Regions from separate parts of the Homo sapiens genome. Here region 2 is linked to region 1. The links are contacts of gene promoters, found by promoter capture Hi-C in human tissues and cell types (Jung and others, 2019). All regions are on one chromosome and are shown on one strand. Each heading gives the region's core, a stretch centred on a gene start or on the middle of the fragment in contact. The rest is flanking DNA. Distances are from core to core; before and after follow the strand shown. Region 1 holds the start of MLF1 (myeloid leukemia factor 1). Region 2 has its middle 7.0 kb from the start of MFSD1.

Region 1 (6,263 bases), core at 2,329-4,828:
CAGAGCTTATGTAATACAAAATAATAAAATTATGGATTTTACAAAATAATATTCTCTGGCTAAATATTCTTTTTTTTTTTTTTTTTTGAGACAGTGTTTCACTCTTGTTGCCCAGGTTGGAGTGCAATGGCGCAATCTCGGCTCACTGCAACCTCCACCTCCTGGGTTCAAGTGATTCTCCTGTCTCAGCCTCCCAAGTAGTTGGGAGTATAGGTGTGTGTCACCATGCCTGGCTAATTTTGTATTTTTTTTTTTTTTTTTTTTTTAGTACAGATGGGGTTTCACCATGTTGGTCAGGCTGGTCTCCAACTCCTGACCTCTGGTGATCCACCCACCTCGGCCTCCCAAAGTGCTGGAATTACAAGCGTGAGCCACCAAGCCTCGCCTCTGGCTTTCAAAAGAGAGAATCACAATAATACAAAAATTTAAACCTGTTAAAATAACACTGTCCATATCCCAACAGCTCCTAAACACGTTAACTAAAATGGCATAATAAATTTGCCTGAGTTCATGTATGCCTTAATAAATAATCTTCAGAAAAAAATTTTAATCATTTTATTTTTCTATATTAACCATTTCATTTCCCACTGTTCATTATCTTTTTATTAATGTTATTTTGCTTTAAATTAGTACTAACATATTTAAGTCAATCATTTATTTAAACAACAACATTGGCTAGGTGCAGTGGCGCATGCCTGTAATCCCAGCATTTTGGGAGGCCGAGGGAGGCAGATCACTTAAGCTCAAGAGTTTGAGACCAGTCTGGGTAACACGGCGAAACCTCCTCTCTACAAAAAAAATTAGCAGGGTGTGGTGGCTCCCTCCTGTGGACCCAGCTACTTGTGAAGCTGAGGCAGGAGGATCGCTTGAGCCTGGGAGGCAGAGGCTGCAGTGAGCCGAGAGCAACCCACTGCACTCTAGCCTGGGCAACACAGTGAGACCCTGTCTCAAACAAACAAACACAGACGCACAACACACCCCCCACAGATATTGTTTGAAAAATATGTGCAATAAACTCTTATTTTAAGACCTTTTTAAAAAATGCTCTCCAAATTGCAAACCTAGAAAATTTAAGGGATCAAAATAAACTAGACTTGAAATCAAAATTCAAACTGGCAAAAAACACTTAGGCTAAAAAGTATTACAAATTTCCCCTCTTAGGGATACAACTAGACTATGTCAATGTGTTTGTAACAATGGCCAAAGTTAGAATTAAGGAAAAAAAATCCCACAACTCAAAAATAAATAATAGTGAAACCAATTTCTGGATGCCTTCTTTCTAGGGCATCACATTACTTCACTGGGAACCTTCAAAGGCAACGAATGGCACTTGCTTACCTGAGGTGTTAAATACACACCCCCCCCCCCCCGCCGCCCTCCTCCCGCCCCCCTCCCCCCGCCCCGCCCCATCAGCTTCCCTGTCCTATTTCTAGTTTTGACAGAAAGCGGAGTCCCTTCACAAACAAGGTTAGCTCTGTAACAAAGCGAGCAAAGAAAACAGCGCAATTGGCATGGCAACTTCCAACAACTTCGAAGAGAAAGCACAACTCTCCAACTTTGTCGTGCTCTCATTGACACATTCCCCACTCACATGGAAAATGCTGTTTTAAAAACTTCCCCTTTTCAATGAACTGTCATGCTATAAAATATTACCTGTTCCTATTTGGAATTTAAAGAGGAGCTATAAAATATTCCCTGCTCCCATTTGCAATTATGTGAACATAATTCTCACCATAAGTTTCACCGAGATGGTAGTTATGTCACCTGCAAAGCCCTTGAAGCTGCAAAGGCCAACTCTGCACACAGGAAGCCATGACGGGCACCCAAAGTCCGGCCAAATGGAAAGCAGCAGGCACCCCGGGAGTGTGAGGAAGGGCCTTCTTTCCATCTCATGCAGCCAAATCCTCCTCCCCCTACCTGGGGCCCTCAACTCTCTACCTCACGTCCTCAACCATCCTCCTGCGACCTCACGCCCCCAAACCCTCCTCCCCCCACTGCACGCCATCAACTCTCCTCTGTCCACCTCACACCCTCAACCCTCCTACCCCCACACCTCATGCCCCTAAACCCTCTTCCCCACACCTCATGCCCCCAAACCCTCCTCCCTCCACCTCACGCCCCAACCCTCCCTCGTCCCACTACCTCTCACCCTCAAACCTCTTCCCCCTACCTCACGCCCTCAACCCTCCTCCCACATCATGCTCTCAAGCCCTTCCCACCAACTCACGCCCTCAACCCTTCTCCCCAACCCTCCTCCCACACCTCATGCCCCCAAATCCTCCTCAGCCCCTAAATCCTCCTCCATCCACCTCACACCCTCAACCCTCTTACCGCCACCTCACGCTCCCAAACCATCCCCACCAACTCATGCCCTCAATCCTCCCCTGCACTTCATACTCCCAAACCCTCCCCACCAACTCACGCCCTCAACCCTCGTCCCTGCACTTCAAGCTCTTAACTCTCCCCTGCACCTCATGCTCCCAAACCGTCCCCCCACCTCACGCCCTCAACCCTCCTCCCCCCACCTCGCGGTCCAAAACCCTCCTTCCCCTCACCTCACACCCTCAACCCTCCCCCACACCTCATGCTCCCAAATCCTCCTCCCACCTCACGTCCTCAACCCTCCTCCTACACCTCACACCTTCAACTCTCCCCCACACCTCATGCTCCCAAACCCTCCCCCCACCTCACGCCCTCAACCCTCCTCCAAACGCCTCACACCCCCAAATCCTCCTTCGTCCATCTCACACCCTCAACCCTCCCCCCTCCACCTTACTCCCCCAAACCCTCCTCCTCCCACCCCACGCTCCCAAACCCTCCCCCCACCTCACAGCCTCAACCCTCCTCCCCCCACCTCACGCTTTCAAACCCTTCCCCCACCTCACGCCCTCAACCCTTCCCCTCACCTCACGCCCTCAACCCTTCCCCTCACCTCACGCCCTCAACCCTTCCCCTCACCTCACACCCTCAACCCTTCCCCTCACCTCACGCCCTCAACCCTCCTCCCTCCCACCTCATGCTCCCAAACCCTTCCCTCACCTCACGCCCTCAACCTCTTCTCCCCACCTCATGCCCTCAATTCTCCTCCCCCCACCTCCCGGCCTCAACTCTTCTCCCCCCACTCCCAGCCTTAACTCTCCTCCCCACACCTCACGCCCCCAAACTTCCCTCCGCCTACCTCACGCGTCCAAACCCTCCTCTCTCCACCTCATGCGCCCAAATCCGTCTCTTCCCTGTCTCACACACCCCTAAATCCTCCTCTCTCTTCCCTCCCAGGCCTCCAAATCCTCGTCTCCTTCAAACCGCCTCCAGAGTTACTCCGAATTCTCTCTCGCCCTCTAAAACTCGCTCTTTTCCCTTAAAATAGCTCCCCTCGATACCTTAATTCCCGCGCGACCCCGGACTCCTGGCTCCCGTAACTCACGAGAAGAAGGGGTCATCCTCAAAACTGCTGTTCAGCATCCTGAACATTCTGGCTCTGTCTTGGGTGGCGGCAGCCGCGGACAGATTGGAAAAACGATGTTAACTCGCCGCGGCCGCGACAAGAGCTAGCCTCCAGTACGGACGACGCCTCACTCGCCGCGGCGCAGGCGGTGCCCGCCGGGATAGGAGGTGCGTGACACCGAGCTGCTTTCCCATTGGACATTGCTCTGTGACGTCACCAGGACGAGGCGGGGAGCAATGCGCCGCTGCCCTGGCAACCGCAATCAACACAGTGGAGGCGAGAAGTCTGGCCTTGCGCCGGCCGGGGAGCTTTTCGCCAAGGCTCCTGTGGGATGGGATAGCTTGTTCTCTGGGCTGCAGGAACCAAAACATTAGACCACCCTTTCTGTGACCTTGGGCATGCCGCCCTCGGTTCCGAGCCGCAAGTCTTTCTTTCGGGGAAAATGAAAAGGGGTCAAGATTTGGACCAGATGACACCCAATGTCCCATTCAACGGTCGCATTCTGTCATCCACAGGAATTAGTCCTGTATCCGAAACATTCTCTGGTAGTCAAAAGCTGTGAGCAAATAATAAGAAAAAATGTGCAAAACGTTTTTTAGTACAGTTAGCAAATAGTGTACTCAGTTGTTGAAGGAAATGGGATGAAGCCTATCAGATTTCAACAAACTTATTTACCTCTTGAGAAAGCTGCTCTCTTTTCGGTTGTCCTTCTGTGTCTCTCTTTCAAAGATCAAGTCTCACTGCGATGCTGATATGTTTTTAACACTTCTCCAGCATTTCTTAACCTAACAGCAGGTTTCAGGCACAGGCCTGCAGCAAGCAGCCATATCCAACTAAAATTCCACTACTATATGTTTTTATTTGCATTACATTTATCAGGGAGCTTTCTATTTATGGCAAGGAAACTGATTTTAAATTTAAATCAGTGATATACATCAAGAGCTAGATTTTGCATTTTTAAGTGAAAAAGTAAGCTATCAAATAGAACAGGTGGAATTTGGATATGGTGGGGCGGAGGGGTAGGCAGAGCAGGGGAGAGGAACATCGTGATAGTGGTACTCAAATTACTAAGTTTTAGAAAACACTATCACGGGGCCTTTCAGGAGCCTGGAGACAGATGGAGGGGAAGACAGAAGAGAGATTAAGGAGAAGAATGGTAAGAGTATAAGAAAAGAGAAAATACATCTTGCATGTCCACCCTTAATTCAGTGAGCTCCCCAGCTTCTCTACGTGGCTGTCTTGCAGAGATAAAGGGGCGTCCATAGCTCATCAGGGCCCCCTGGGATCAGGCCAGAGGGGTGGCACTTTGCCAGCATGAAGAAGTGTGCAAGCCCTGATTTGGAGGTGACAGGAGTAGTCAGGGGTTATTTTGAGAGCTGGAAATTTAATCGTTTGGATCTTTTACTCCCCATCCCCCTTTTTTAGCCAAGTTCTCTGGCAGCTTCCTTCCCCTGAGACTGGTGGCATGGGGTAGGGCAGACTTCACAGCCCAAGATGAGATGGCACAGCCCATCCAGGAAAGAGGATATTTTCTTTTCCTCTGGACTCAGAATAAAGCTCAGAGAACATATACACAAAATTTCGAAAATTTCTAAATAAATTTCAAGGCAAACAAAATTGTTTTATAAGACCTTAAATTGTTTTTCTCTTTAAAATAGTATAAGCACAAGATGTGAAGGAGGCCACACTTAAAAAAAAACTTGAAATGGAGTAAGTTATGTGATAAAAGATGGTGTTAAAATAGTTCTGGATTAAGGCCAAGTAAATTTGTAATGTTACCCTCTAGTTTCTGTGGGAACTTTTTTAGAATCACATTGTTATAAAAGCTTTAGTCCAGGCACAGGTTAGTCAGGGAATTAGCTGAACCTTGTGAAAGCAGTTTGGATCTAATGACAAATGCAAAAAAAAAAAAAAAGGAGGGCAGAGCAGAGTTGGCACTGAAGAGACCTTGACATCATTTTCAGAACTGATGGGTAAGAGGTGGAAATGAAAGAAAGCGTGGGTCAGGAGAGAATGAATACTCCAGCATGGGAGGAATAGAGATGCAGAACAGGACTGAGAGGAGAGGGTCCTGGACTTGGCTGTAAATATAATCATAATAGCTAATATTTATTGAATGTGTGCCAGGCACTGTTGTAGGCACTCCATATGCATTACCTCATTGAATCCTCATTAGCAGTTTTATGGAGTAGAGATGGCTTTTATCCCCATGTATAGATGATGCATTCAAGACACAGAGAAGCTGAATAAATTGCCAAGGTTCACACAGCTAGTAATTGAACTGAGCTGGGTACCTGGAGCTTTCCTCTGTGAGTGCTGGTTATATGGTATGTGAGTGATGAGTCATACTTAAAGATGCAGGATGAAAGCGGGTAATCATTTTTCAAAATCATGCTGACAAGCTAAATGGACCCAAACTAAAAAGTACAAAATTCAGTGGGAATATATTCACATCACATAAATTCAATTCTACAAATATTTATTGAGTGACTACCCAGTGTTGGGGACTGATCTACGACCTTAGGCATCATTGAACAAAACGGACAAAAATCTCTGCCTTCCCGGAGTTTATGTTCTTGTAAGGACAGACTCAAAATAAACAAAATAGAAAATAGTATATTGTAAGGTGATAAGTGTTAGGGAGAAAAGCTGATCAGGGTAAGGAGTATGGAGAGGTGCAATTATAAATAGCAAGTTTTGTGTACGCCTCACTAAGGGGAATTTGAGCAAAGACCCACAGGAAGGAAGTGGATGTCTAGTGGAAAAGCATTCCAGGGCAGTGCTAAAGTAGCATTTGCCTGGTGTATATAATGTACAG
Region 2 (6,263 bases), core at 2,106-4,605, 220 kb before region 1:
TGGGGAATACAGAGTTCAGGAATAGGTGCATTTCAGAGGCAAAAGGGTTTGCCATCACCTGTAGAAGAGTAGATATTCTGGTAAGACTGTTATTAATTCTCCACTGAATTTATTGGAGTGAACCTGTCATTGGCTGACTTTGAGAAAGGAGGGGTTTTTCAAAACAAGTTTTACTGAGGCAGTTGATTAATTGAATGGGTTTAAAACTGGTTCTAGGAGTGTGGAAACTTGCTTTAATTCTCAGGGCTTCAAAAAATTATTATAGAAATGTGAAACCTACAGAAAAAAAAAAGGTAAAAAGGTAATGTACCCACCAAACTGAGCATCCAGAGAAGGACACAGGAAAGAGCTTTTTAGTCAGTGCCAACTCCCCTGTGCATGCCTGAGAACTTCTCCTTGGGGGCTTGCCCTTCCCAGGAGTTCAGGCTACCTGGTTACCTTGCAACCCAGCTGTGTCTGATGGTTTCAGTTAAGGTTGTGACTTTGTAGTTCATCTGAGTTTTTCTCATTATTGAGAAAGGAAAGATGTTCATTGCAGCTTTTCATATCCTAAGCACAAAAGAAGTCTTTCGTCTCAATTTTAACAGTACATTAATGGGGTATTACCCTTTTTCTCCCAGTTTCACAGTTGTCTTTTGTCTTTATGAAGTTTTTGGCTTATTTGTTTTGTCATGAAAAGGGTTTTTTTTAGAATATAGTCAAATTTATCAATTTTTTCTTTTATTGCATCTGGATTTTGAAACATAATTAGAAATCCTTTCCTTGTACCCAGGTTAAAGAAGAATTCACCCATTTTTTTTTCTAGTACTTGTATGGTTTCATTATTTAGATTTAGATTCCTGACCCATTTGGAGTTTATTCTTTTGCCTAGTATGAGGTATGGATCAAACTTTTTATCTTTTTCTAAATGGCTAACCAATTGTTAAGTCCATCTTTGTCCAAGTGATTTGAGATGCCACCTTTATTGCATACTAAATTCCCATATGTATTTGGGTTTACTTCTGGACTTTCTTTTCGGTTGTACTGCTCTTTCTTGTCATGCACAAGGACCACTGTTTTTATTTTAGAGGCCTTAGAATATGTTTTAGTGACTGGTAGATGTAGTCCCCTTTCATAGCTTTTATTTTTGTTTTCCTGGATATTCTTCCATATTTTTCCACCTGAAATTAGTATCAGCTTGCCTAGCTCCATAAGAAAACTGGTATTTTTTTAATGAACTTTGAAAATTAACTTAAGGAGACTTTAGTTTTTAATGTTAAGTCATCACATACAAAAAAAAAAAGTGGTGTTCCAGTTTTTCAAACTATTTCATGTCTTTTGAGAGTGTTTTAAAGTTTTCTTCATATATATTTTACAAATTTCTTGTTAAATTTATTATTCTTTGTTGCTTTTGTAAATGTAGTTTTCTCTACCTTTATGTCATGTTACTGATTATGTATGTGAAGGCTGTTGATTTATGTATGTTAAGTTTATGTCCTGCCAACTTATTGAATTCTTCTCTAGTTTGACTTAGTTTTGCTGTTAATTTTCTGTGATATTCCAGGTGTACTGTCATACCATCTGCAAAGACAAAGAGTTTTACTCACTCTTTTCTAGTTCTCCTGCCTTCAATTGATTTCTCTTTACTAACTGCAGTAGTGAGTATCTCCAGTTCAATGTTAAATGGCAGTGAAGATAGTGTACATTCTTCCCTTAGACCTGGGATAAATATTAAACAAACAGAAGAGAAAGGAATGCTCTTCCTTGTAATAGAAAGCCAATCAATACATGTAGAAGGAATGATGGAAATATAAAACCACTGTTTGCTAGGCATCATCATAATATCTGATCCAGGCAAGAATCAGTAGTTACTAAAATTAGTGGATAAAAGTTTGAAGTGTAAAGGATATATGCATAATCTCAAAGTAGCTCCTCACCAGAGATTTATTAATGACAAAGGAAAAAATAGTGCAGAAGCCTGGCCCACATACGTGAACCAAGTGATCATAGTTAATACTACCAGTATTGGAACAAAGTGACATTATGTGCCCCCAGATATGCACTGAAACTGAAAACACAAAACTCTGTGATTTACCTAACAAAAGCTCATCATACCTAAATCTCAGCATAAGGAAACATCAAACAAACCCAAATTGAAGGATATTATACAAAATAACTGGCCTGATTTCTCAGTGTCATAAAAGACTAAGGAACTGCCCTGATTAAAGAAGACTCCAGAGACATAACAGCTGAATGCAACACATGATCCAGGATTTCTTTGGCTATAGGGAACATTATTGGGACAGTTGACAAAATCTAAGTTCTGTAAGTAATTTGTATTCTGTCAGCATTTATTTTCTGATTTTGACTACTGGACTGTGGTTATAAAAGAAGGTACCTGTGGCCGGGCGTGGTGGCTCACTCCTGTAATCCCAGCACTTTGGGAGGCCAAGGAGGGCGGATGGATCACCTGAGGTCAGTTCAAGACCAGCCTGACCAACATGGAGAAACCCCATCTCTACCAAAAATACAAAATTAGCCGGGTGTGGAGGCGCATAGCTGTAATCCCAGCTACTCGGGAGGCTGAGGCAGGAGAATCGCTTCAAACCAGGAGGCGGAGGTTGCCGTGAGCTGAGATCAAGCCATTGCACCCCAGCCTGGGCAACAAGAGCAAAATTCAGAAAAGACGAAGACGAAGACGACGAAGACGAAGACGAAGAAGAAGAAGAGGAGGAGGAGGAGGAGGAACTTGTTTTTAGAAAACACATACTGAGATATTTAGAAGTCAAAGGACATGTACATATATTAGATATATATGTATATGGAGAGAGAATAAAACAAACATGGTAAAATGTTGCCATTTCAGGTGTCTGGGTAGAGGTATGTGGGAACTCTTTTTACTAGCCTTACAACTTTTCTGTAAATCTGAAACTATATACACCACACTTTGACCTCCTAAGAGTCTTGTGCATCTTTGTATCTCAAACATCTAGAACAGGGCCAGCTTGAAAACTGCTTAATAAGTGAATCCCTTAAATCAGGAGCACGTTACACCACCTAGTGGTGTAACAAAGGAAGCTTACTGCTGTGGAAAAACCTGTTCCTGTCCACAATGAACTTGCTCATTCTAACTGTGTTGACCTATTATTAGCCAAACAAATTGCACTTATTTTATAATTATCAAGTGATGGGAAAGTGAAAGCAATTTGGGGTGTAAGTATAGGCTTTATCATCTTGGACACAAGGTCACTAGACTGACCAGCCTGGTTTCACAGGTGTGGGGGTGGTTGCAGCCTCTGGAGCAAAGTTAGCCACACAGACAGAAAAGAGAATAGGGTAACTCCTAAAAATCCAAGTTCTGGATTCAGTCTTCATGTGCATTTACTTCCTACAACTCCTGAGTGCTGTGTGAGCCAAAACATTCTCTTTATCTTCATCCTTCATATTGGAAGCCAAGATGTAAACCCCTTCAATGCCTTCTTTTGTCTCCCCGGTCTACCCCCACCCCCACCTCTCCCCACCAGCAGTGCAGGTTTCTAGTATGGGACAAGAGAGGAGTGTCTGGTTCTGCTTGGGAGCCCAGAAGCAGTGAAAAATGAGCTTGATCTTGAAGAATGAAGAAGACTGGGAGTGGGGGTTGGAGGGGCAGAGTAAGGGCATTTCAGGCAAAAACAACATCATATACAAAGGCCTTAGAAAGAGATTCTGACTCTCTCAACTTCTATATTAGCTTCATCCAACTCTACATAGAAGATGTGCAAAGACAGCCTTTGAAGTCTGGTGAAAATAACTGCGTTGATTTGGATCATGGGATTAGACGTTGGTTTACTTCCATATAGTGACTCATGAAAAATAGTTTATGCTGACTTATGTAATCACAGGAATGAAAAGTTTTTGTATTATTATGTAAATGAAGTACCAATTTTAAAAGAAAAATATGTACTCTAGGAGTCTAAGGCTGTCCTTATATTTTAGAGCCTAACTGGCAAAACTAGTGGCCAAGATAGCAGGAAAGTGTCCACTGAGAGGTCTAGGGAGTTCATGTTCTCACTCCTAAGTGACTGCTAAAAAATGTGAACACATGGCCATAGAGAGTGGAATGATAGATGGTAGAGACTCAGAAGGGTGAAGGGTTGGGAGGGTGAATGTGAGAAATTCTGTACTGAGAAATTACTTAATGGGTACAATGTACATTATTTGGGTGATGAATACCCTTAAAAGCCCTGACTTGACCACTGCATGATCTATGCATGTAACAGAATTGCACCTGTACCCTATAAATGTTTACAAATTTAAATAAATGAATAATAGATCTGAAAGAATGTTTATGTGCTTAATAAATACTGCTTTTTATTGTACACTAGCCCCCGCCTTATCCTGGGGGAACACTTTCCAAGACTCCCCAGGTAGATGCCTGAAACCATGGAGTGTACCGAACTCCTATGTAAACTATGTTTTTTTTCCTATACATACATACCTATAATAAAGTTTAATTTATATATTAAACATAGTAAGAGATTAACAATAATAACTAATAATAACATAGAACAACTGTAATGATACACTGTAAAAAGAGTTATGTGAATGTGGCCTCTCTCCCAAATATTGTATTGTACATATTTTCTTATGTTGATGCAAGATGATACACTGCCTACATGATGAGATGAAGTGAGGTGAATGATGTAGTCATTGTGACAGCAATAAGCTACCATTGACCTTCTGTACTCCTGAATCCGTTTAACCATCCCTTACTTGCAGTAAATGGCTTGATGTCACTAGTTTTAGGGGATCCCTTGCTGAAGTCTTCATGTAGCTGAATGCTTTTTGGCCTAACATTGCCATCAATCAGAACACATTTTCTCTTCATGTCTTCCACCAATAAATGTAATACCTTTTCCATTTAACTAAGCACTTGGCACACAATGGATGGCCATAATTTTTGCAGTTTGAGATGCAACAGCAAAACTAGCATGAATTTCTTTTTTCTTCTTCACAATTTCACAAAGAGAAGATTCATTCTTATCATAGATCTTAGCAACCCCAGCATACGATTTTTTTTCTTTCCTTATTAAGTCGAAGACTTTCACCTTTTCACTTAAAGGAAACACTTTATGGCTTCTTTTTCACATATCCGAATTGCCATCATCTCTACTCTTGCACTTTGGAGGCATTTTTATTAAAATAAGGATTACTTGAACACAAGCACTACGATGCTGCAACAGTTGATCTGATAACTGAGACAGCTACCAAGTGACTCACTGGCGGGGAGTGTGGAAACAGTGGATGCACTGGGCAAAGGGATGATTTCATACTGGGAAATCATGATGATACGCGGTATGGCATGTAATTTAAAACGTATGAATTATTTGCTTCTGGAATTTTCCATTTCATTCTTCTGAACTGAGGTTGACTGCAGATAACCAAAACCATGGATAAGGTAGGACTACTTTTGTACATCAAAACGCGTAGGAATCATTTACATTTATTTTTATTCAGTTCCAAGGAAATAATTTGCTGTTTTCCTCATTTGTTTATAGCAAACTTGAGTTCTGAAGGAGCAGAATAAATAATTCCCTGGAATTTCAATACAAATTAACGACTGAACAAAGATTAGACAGTAAAAAAAGTTCCTTTTATACAGACCTCCAGACAGGCACATTCTTATCATCTGTTTTGAAAACTAATTAAATAGAGATAAATGATCTACCCCCAAAGATACTAAACTGGTATGTTAGGATCAAGAGGAGAGGGACTCGCGGGTTGGGAACAAAGACAGGTACCACGCCTTGGATGAAATGTGATCCTAAAATGCCCCAAATTTCGAATGCCAATGAATACATTTATGTCCTACAGTATTCAATTTTTGATAAATGTATGCCTCTATGTTTTGTTTGTTCATGCATTCTTCTCTTAATCTGTTTCTATTTTCTTTCTCTTTGTGTATGTATCCAACTATGTATTCATCCATACGTCTACCTATCTATACATTTATTTGTCTTCAATTGTAAAAACATACTCGCTGTATTTTTCCTTCCTCACAAGAAGTGAAGGGAGTCAGGAAAGAACAGGTGATAGTATATTCTTCTAATTGAAAAAAATGTTAAAGGATCCCTCTAGCTTGGTACAAGAAAAAATATATAGAAATTAAGCAGTAAAAAATAATGTGCAGCTGGGCTCTGTGCCTCACACCTGCAATCCCAGCACTTTGGGAGGCTGAGGCAGGTGGATCACCTGAAGTCAAGAGTTTGAGACTAGCCTGGCCAACATGGTGAAACTCCATTTCT

What was found. The method cuts DNA at HindIII sites, captures the fragments that hold promoters and counts their contacts. A contact is called where the count stands out against the background at its distance.
Region 2: a contact is called between a fragment that was not itself captured here and the fragment with the promoter of MLF1 in region 1, in 1 of the 25 tissues and cell types used here (hippocampus).

What each region holds. Positions count from the first base shown.
Region 1 is chr3:158,568,509-158,574,771 of GRCh38, reverse strand. It overlaps MLF1 (myeloid leukemia factor 1), which reads right to left and starts at 3,578. Exons shown (of 8, transcript NM_001369783.1): 1 at 3,425-3,578. The coding sequence starts at 3,471. It overlaps MLF1-DT (MLF1 divergent transcript), which reads left to right and starts at 3,706. Exons shown (of 5, transcript NR_104147.1): 1 at 3,706-4,601. The HindIII fragment of the contact is 8,231 bases long and covers 1-6,263 here.
Region 2 is chr3:158,791,933-158,798,195 of GRCh38, reverse strand. No RefSeq gene overlaps it. Among named protein-coding and RNA genes, the nearest start is that of MFSD1, 7.0 kb to the left of the region's middle. The HindIII fragment of the contact is 4,544 bases long and covers 1,084-5,627 here.